2 separate regions of the Homo sapiens genome follow, and region 2 is linked to region 1. Evidence: promoter capture Hi-C in 16 types of primary human blood cells and fetal thymus (Javierre and others, 2016). All regions are on one chromosome and are shown on one strand. Each heading gives the region's core, a stretch centred on a gene start or on the middle of the fragment in contact. The rest is flanking DNA. Distances are from core to core; before and after follow the strand shown.

Evidence for each region. Contacts are between HindIII fragments. The CHiCAGO score rates a contact against its expected background, and 5 or more counts as called.
Region 2: a fragment that was not itself captured here is called in contact with the fragment with the promoter of SLC25A13 in region 1 in 1 of 17 cell types (fetal thymus); the score reaches 5.0 in fetal thymus.

Annotation. Positions count from the first base shown.
Region 1 is chr7:96,320,583-96,324,522 of GRCh38, forward strand. SLC25A13 (solute carrier family 25 member 13) reads right to left here and starts at 1,516. Exons shown (of 18, transcript NM_014251.3): 1 at 1,360-1,516. The coding sequence starts at 1,374. RefSeq lists a silencer at 1,312-1,651. The HindIII fragment of the contact is 9,010 bases long and covers 1-3,751 here.
Region 2 is chr7:96,837,493-96,841,617 of GRCh38, forward strand. No RefSeq gene overlaps it. Among named protein-coding and RNA genes, the nearest start is that of SEM1, 130 kb to the left of the region's middle. The HindIII fragment of the contact is 963 bases long and covers 1,435-2,397 here.

The DNA.
Region 1 (3,940 bases), core at 266-2,765:
CTAGTGATGCTCAGAGAAACTGCTGAAAAGTTATAGATAGATATACACACGCACACCTGTGTGTTCATATGCAAACATACATGAGCCCACACACCCAGAGTACTTTCCTAAGGATGAAACTCAGAGTAATTACAGAAAAGAGAAATGCCACTTAGACCACAGAAACTAACAACATGAAGAAGCCTACGGATTTGGGGAGCCTGGAGAGACTTAAGTCATAGAACAGCATTTAAATATATTTGTCTGCTTACAATTTCCATTGCAAATGTGATTAGTTTGCTTGAATAAATAGGAATATGATGTGTTGGCCATGTTTTCCTCTTGAGGGTTATCACAGAGTTTTGATTAAGGACAAATGTTTGAAATGTTAGGTATATTTAAGTTCACTGCACTTAAAATGAGCTAAGAAGTTGTATAGGCTTGATTAGAGGGCTGCCTTCGTGAACTTAAATTAAAAGCAATAAATTCCAAATGATTCAAGTGATTGGGACTAAATATGGTATTCTGCCAGAGAAGTTGAAATGCAGTCCAAAGAGACTGAAATGGTGTCCAGGTTTCAAGAAATGGTGAAAGAGGAAAGGTCAAGTGTTGGAGTTGCCTTTCCTCTGGGTTAGTGAATGATTCACATTACACAGAACCCCTTTCAAGTACAACTTCACAGGAGTGACAGGCTCCCAGGACAATCTGTTTCATCGTTCCCAAAAAGAAGCCTCTCAAATGCTCCGAGGCGGGTATCTAAGTGTTGTCAGATGGAGAGAGGGAGGGGGAAGATGGGAATGATGGGAAAGCGGGGAGGGGGAGAGTCCCTGGACTTTTTATTCACAAAGGCGCAGACCAAGTCTCCTAGGCAGTTTCCAAAACGGAAGTCAAAGTAACTTCCCCACCCGCGGGAGGGCGGAGCCCTTGAAACGTAATAGGATCAGGCTTCAGCCCGGGCTCTGGCCCCTGGAAGAAGCCGGAGTCAACAACCAGCGGGGTCAGGAGCAGGAGCGCGCTGGGAAGGTAGAGAGGACCCCCAGCGCTTGCCGGCCCAGGGTGCACCAGGCCCCAGTCGCGCCCGCTCCTCCTCGTCGGCCCTGGCTCAGCCCCGTCAGGCACCAACTTCCCTCCCCGGCCAAGTGGGAGTGTCCGGCCCACAAAGTTTCCGCTGCGAGGTCGGGCCTCGGTCTCTGCACCGACCGCCTGTGCTGCCCGGGAGGAGTGGCCCCCTCCCTCCAGCAGCCGCAAGGTGGAACGGCTGCCCGGCACCCCATTTTGCTCCGCCTGTGGCACCAACCCAGACACGTGAGCGCCCGAGCCTCTCGCACCCCCAGGCTGATCCGGCAGGCGCGCTCCCCCCGGCCTCGGGCCCGCGGTTACCTTGGCGGCCGCCATGATTCGCCCCGGTTGCGGGCGACTGCGGGACCCACTGACTGGCTGGCTGGCGTTTGGGACCCGGGCGGCTCACTTCTAGTCCCGGCGGCGGCGGCGGTGGGGGCGGCGATACGGCCAGGCAGCGTGCGTTCCTGGCCTGCCTCCCCACGCCCTCCCGCCGGCGCGGGTCATGTGGATGCTGCCCGCCCATTGGCTGGGCCCAGCCTTGGCCGCCGGGGTGCGCGTGATCCAGCGGCCTCTGCCCTGCAGCCGGGGAGGGCTCAGATCCTGGGGCAGTGGCTGGACAGGGACACGTGACCCCGCTGCGCTGTCCAGCAGCGGCGGCCTCTGCGGCGTGGGCAGAGGTAACTTGGCCGTGTGCAAGCCCGTCACCTGAGGGCAGGTGGCCCCACCAGGGAAGCTGCTGGCTTCTGCTGATACCAGGGGCTACTGGGCCCTCGGACCGATGGGAGGGGCAAGTAACGACAGATGGTGCACGGCCTGGGGAAGTTGAGAACTCCACTAGGACACATACTTTGCTGGATATTTTTTCCCCTGTGCGTTCCCTTTGAAGGAGCTCCACTTTACACTGGATCCAAAAAGACTTTGATCCAAAAGCATTGACTTAGAAGGCGAGATTGCAAATATTGCTGGCACGCCTACTTTTAGATCAAAATCGGTGAACTCTTAAGAACCCAACAAGTGAATGTAGTGCAGAACGTATATTCATGAAACTACTCCATTTCAGCCCTACCTGTTAAAACGGTAGAAGTCAAAAGGCCCGGGTCAAAAGACTTCCCCCAAATAGGCCCTACTAAAATAAATAAACAAGCATTTTAATGAAAATTTGCTTATATGACCTCCAGGCCTTACTCCTCTTCATCAGGATTTCATTCTTCTGTCCTTGTAATCAAAATTTATAAGACAGTGGTGATCAGGGAAAAGGACTTTTAATGTATTGTAGGTTGTGGATGTAATATGGCAGCAAAAAGCACTTATTACTAATCAGTTTAATTCATTAACGTTGATTGAGTGCCTTCCTACTATGTGCTAGGCACTGTGCTTGGTGCTGGAAACCCCGAAATGACTTAAGAACTGGTTCCAACCGTTAAACAGCTTCAGGGCTATTGGGAAAGAGACACATAAATGTTTACTTCAGTATAACCTGTTAAGGCAGCAGACTGTTCCCAGGGCTCAATAAGAATACTGAGAATTCTCATGCCACTATGAAGAAATACCTGAGACTGGGTAATTTATAAACCAAAAGATTTAATTGACTCAGTTTCGCATGGTTTGGGAGACCTCAGGAAACTTACAGTTGTGGTGGAAGGCACCTCTTTACAGGGTTGCAGGAGAGAGAATGAGTGCCAAGCAAAGGGGGGAAAGCCCCTTGTAAAACCATCAGATCTCATAAGAACTCACTATCACAAGAACAGCATGGGAGTAACCGCCCCCATGATTCCGTTGTCTCTCACCGGGTCCTTCCCATGACATGTGGGGATTATGGGAACTACAATTTAAGATGAGATTTGGGTAGTGACACGGTCAAACCATATCAAAAGGTAACTTGATCTTGAGCTATGGGATTGGGGCAGTGGCACGACTAGTGGAAGGAGTCTGGCCCAGCAGGTAGGGGCTGTGTCATGGTGGGTCTTAGGCGCCTTGCTGAAGGGTATGCACCTTAACTGAAGGGTTTTAAGTCAGGAAGCAGCATGACTAGGTTTTCGATATAGAAAGATCTCTCTATGGTCTGAATGTGCCCCCCAAAATTGATGTGTTGGATACAATCTCTAATGCATCAGTGTTGGAAGGTTGGGTCCTTGGGGAGGTATTTTCATCACAAGGGCTCTGCCCTCATAAATGGATTAATGCTGCCATAAAAAGAGGTTTGGGGAGTGGGTTCACTCTCTCTTGCTCTTCTGCTCTTTTGCCATATAAGAACATAGCATTCCTCACCTTTGAAGGACACAGCATTCAAAGAGCCATCTTGGAAGCAGAGAAACCAGGCCGTAACCTGCCAGCACTTTGATCTTGGACTTCCTAGCGTCTAGAACTGTGAGAAATACATTTCCGTCCTGTTCTTCTAGTCTCAGGAATTCCCTTACAGCAACACAAAATGGACTAAAACACTGCTTGCAGTATGGAGGATGGGTTCCAACTGAACTACCAGGATGTCCAGACGAGACAGGCTGGGGATGGGCTAGGACTAGAGGAATACATAGAAGGTAAAATTAGTGGGGTTGGGACGGAAAAAGGGAGTTGTGCCATATTGCACATAGACTTGTGGTATGGGTGTCTGGAAAAACACCTGAGATTGGTAATTCAAGAGGAGTGTTTTGAGGTGTGTGAGTCTGTCTGTAAGGAGAATGTATGTCCAACATACAAATTATGTTGTAGAAGCTTAAGAAAGAAGCATTACAGAAAGAAGCAACTATTTAACCTACTCTCAAAAGGTTCAACAAAGCCCAGAAGACTTGACCATGTTCATAGGCAGAGAAGAAAGATCAGCAAAAAGTAAAAAAAAAAAAAAGACAAAAGGAAAACCAGGAGAATTGTTAGAGAAAATTATGACAAGGGGACAAGTCTG
Region 2 (4,125 bases), core at 666-3,165, 520 kb after region 1:
AGATAGTGAGTTTACTCATGGTTTGTTTGTCACTGCATAACCTGTAACTCCACCCCTATGTAAGCTCTTCCACCTTTACATATTAGAATTTCAACAGCTATAATCAGTCTGTCCAGTTCAGATATTTATTTGCAGCAATAGGTGACTTCGTTGTGAAGACAACAAAAGTGTCCTTTTAAAGCATGAGAACTACACATGTACTACACTGTATGGTTATGAATAATTACTTTCCCTTTACTCTGAAAGAGATTCTGATCATTTCAGTGTTCCTCGCCACCAAGGAAGTGGTGAAACTCTTAGCTAGATGTGGTTAAGGGGTTACTCTTGAATCTGAGTTCTCTTTTCCTCTGGGTTTTGCTGAACTCTTTCTTCTGTCTGGGCTTTTATGACTATTGGTGGGTTTTCTCAGTCATTCAAGCTGCAGTTGCTCAAAGTGCCCTTGAAGCAGGGATTTTCTATTAATAGTATTTTTAAAGATGTTTGCTTCTTCTCAACTTCCTCAGAAAATTCAGTCCCTAGTTACATAAGAGGCTGGAAATGCCTGCCCTCTCTATTTGTTGCCTTAAATTTTCTTTGAGCACTGTTCCTTCTGTTTTCTCCTTGTGCAAAATAGAAGTGGTTGCTTGTACCAGAAGAAAACTGAAATTCTACAAATATACATCAGGATCGCATTCTGTCCCACTATTATTTTCAGGAAGAACTATATTATGATACTTTTTCTGTAACAATATTAAATGCACATGGACTAGCCATAAGAGAACTCATCAGCATCCCAGATTAGATTTTATATGCCTAAGTCTTTCATTTGAGATAGTGTCAATGTTGATTGAGTGGTTTCTGCTGTACTGAGCATCTACCTACCTTTAGTTTCACTGAGGCACCTAAGAAACGGTCAAGCCCTTAGTTCTTCCCATTCCTTCACATATTTTCCTCTGTTCCTGGCTCTTAGTGTTTTATCTGTTTTCAATTTCAGTTACAGTGAGTATACACTGTCCTCCTGAGCTCTTTTCCCAGAGACTCTCCGCTGCTATTCCAAAGGGCCTAAACTTCTATTCTGTCTGTCAAAGATGGTTAATACATGAGTATTAACGTCCAGTTTTTTTATATAGTAATTGAAAGTTTGCCTGCTGTGTACAAGACTGCCCTGCTGGCCAGGAACCCGACTGGACATAGCATTTGCCAGCCACCTGCTGGGAACAACAGTGCAGCGAGACAGACAGTGAACTCTGTTACCCAACAGGCATTTGCCAGGGCCTGATTTCTGCGATTCAGCGATGTACCTTTCAAAGGCTCTTCATCCAACTGCAAATCTTCCCTTCACTCATCTACTTGTTTGGATTCAGAAGATAGCACTTGCCACAAAGAGACACATTCCCTAATAACGTTTTATTCTTTTCTCTCGACCAACCTCTCTTTAATTCCCTGCATGTGGTAAGCTTCCTCAAAGTCTTCTGACTATCCACCCTGAGCCCATATCCTTGCATCTTTGTTTCCCTTTTTCACCATTATCACTCCAGAGAGATTCTCTTTGTAATCTTGGTCAGCTTTACAGACTCATCCTTTGTAATGGTTTGTATTAATATCTTTTCCTTTCTATAGCATCCTGTAGGGTTTTCAAAACCTTTTGATTTTGTTTTTCCTTTGTGACTTTCTTATGGTTTCATTTTGCATTTGTTTAGATACTTGCAATCTGATTGACACATCTGTCAAGATCAATTTTTTTACGCACTCTCTGCTTGGCTTCTAAGATTCATTTCGGCAGCTTCATTGTGGTTTGTTCATCTTTCTTGACTTTCCCTACAATCCAGAGTACTGTAGATGATTAGTGTAGCTTTCTCAGCATGCTTTTCACAGCCATCACAAGGCTTGGGAACTCTTGCAAAGGTCTAAGATTTTTGCAACATTAACTTTTAGGTCACCTTAGTGAATTTATAAAGGTGATTTATATTCTCTTCTCTACAATGAATAAACTTCTTTTGTCCTTTATGGGAGTACTCAAGAGCCCATGGTTTCCATCCTATTTCATTTCCTCTTATTTCTTAACCTTCTTTTCATTGATTTGTACTAATATATCAATGTGCTTGGCTCCTTTTTTAATGATCTATGCCTGTTTCTAAGATTTTAAGTCAATCCCATGGATAATGAATTTGTATTTCTCCTTTCCCCAAATTGTGGTTTTTATCAACATAATGCCTATATATTCAAATAGGTTATTTAGGCATGAGGCATAAATGTAAATATTCTTCATCGCATATGTGTTGAAAACATCCAACACTAGATGTGTAGCTTCTAACTTTGAGAATTTGATTGGAGAACTACAGGAATTACTTTTTTCTGCCTTTTGAGTCTGTAGAAGAGAATGATTTTCAAATATTCTACATTTTCTGACTTTCCTAAAGCTTAATCCCATTAATGACTTATAAGGGTAATTGAGATTTCTCTTGTTTAATATCCCTATATGTGCTTAGAGGCTGTTATGCCTCATTTTAGGTTTTTTTCCTTTCAAGTGAACATGCCAAGCAGTCTGCACCCTTTATTTAGAGGCTGACATACAAACCCTTTATCAACTTGTTGTTCTCCTTTGAACTCTTTCCAATTTACTTGAATTTTAAAACCTTAGTTGCACATTTAGCCACATTTTCTGTAGTTCCAGAGTACAAAAAGAATGTTGTGCTCACTCTGCCTCTTGCTCACTCTCCACTTTGTGAATTGTCATGATCTGCTTGAACCCCTTCACACCTAACAAGAGCCTGATCCTGTGCCTGGCATCCCAAAGCCTCCCCCCAACCAGGTACATCTGGCTCCCGTGAACAATAATGGTTCCCTCCTCCAACATGGCAATTGCTTTACAAGGGAGTTGGCATCAGAGTATGTAGTTTTCAGACTCTTTGGTACTGAAGAAATCATTCTGCCCTTTATAACCAAAAAATGACCAAGTTACCTATGTGTCAAGACGGGCCTTAAAAAAGGAATTTTTTGCAAAATATTTATTAGTTTGGTAGATGGCCATGTTGGTTGGCATTCTCATATGAGGCGTATCTGGAAATATCCCTTCTTCTGTCAAACTCTGCACAATCAATTCAATCACTCTGCCTCCCTGTTGGGTCTTGGTTTCTCAAAGATAATTTTGATAAGTTTGTTGATGTTGTATCTGTTTTGCCAATTTGCAAGGGAAAAAGATAAACTTTAATAAAAAGTGGAGGACATTAAGAGAATAAAAAAGATCTTTCAAAAGAAAGATAGTCAGACATAGATATAGATTCTAGCTAGTAATCAATTAGGGAAGTTAGGAAAAATTCATACCCTCTTCTGAAAATTCCCTTATCTATACATAGCCAAATATAAAATCAGGTTTATCATGAAACTAAAAAGATAAAGTTTTTTTTCTAGCAAGATGAAACTAATAAAAGAAGTCACATTTTCCCCCAATCAACAACAATTATAATAATATTAAATTCAATTTTCTTTTGCAAGACCCAGTTTTCTTTAGGATTGTTTATTTTCACCCCAAAAGAGGCATATCCCAACGAACCTTATGGCAAACTTAACTTTATATTTTTTACCTTCTCTTACCTTATCTCATAAGCTTGAGAATTTATGTCTTGCATTATTTTGTTGATCATTTTTATTTCCAATGACAGTGAATTTTTAATTCCTGGTGATGCTGTGGATAATGATGTTGCAAAGATTGTATACCAGCCCTCCTAGCTAGATTAATGAAGGGGCTGGCATGGACATAGAAGTACCAATTTAGAATCATTTTAGAGAGAGAAAGAACAATAGTAATGTACAAACTCTGGTAAATATAACGTATATTATTCCACTCTTTAAAACTGCTTGTAGTGAGGTGTTATTAGCTAAGGCTGCTGCCGCAGCAGCTACTAGAGGCCATGAACTGCAGTGGTGCAAGTCCTAGAAGAGTTTATTTGTCTGTATTGATTTCCTGAAAACCTCGATTTTGGTGAAAAACGGAATATAGAGATTTTTTTGATGTGAGCAGCTCCCACTATTACACTGACCTGTGTTCATGCCCCTATGGTGATTAAACTCTTTCTTGGGCTCAAATCAAATCCTGGCTCTTGTTAATTTGTATAATCCATTTGACTAAAGATCCAGAAATGAGTT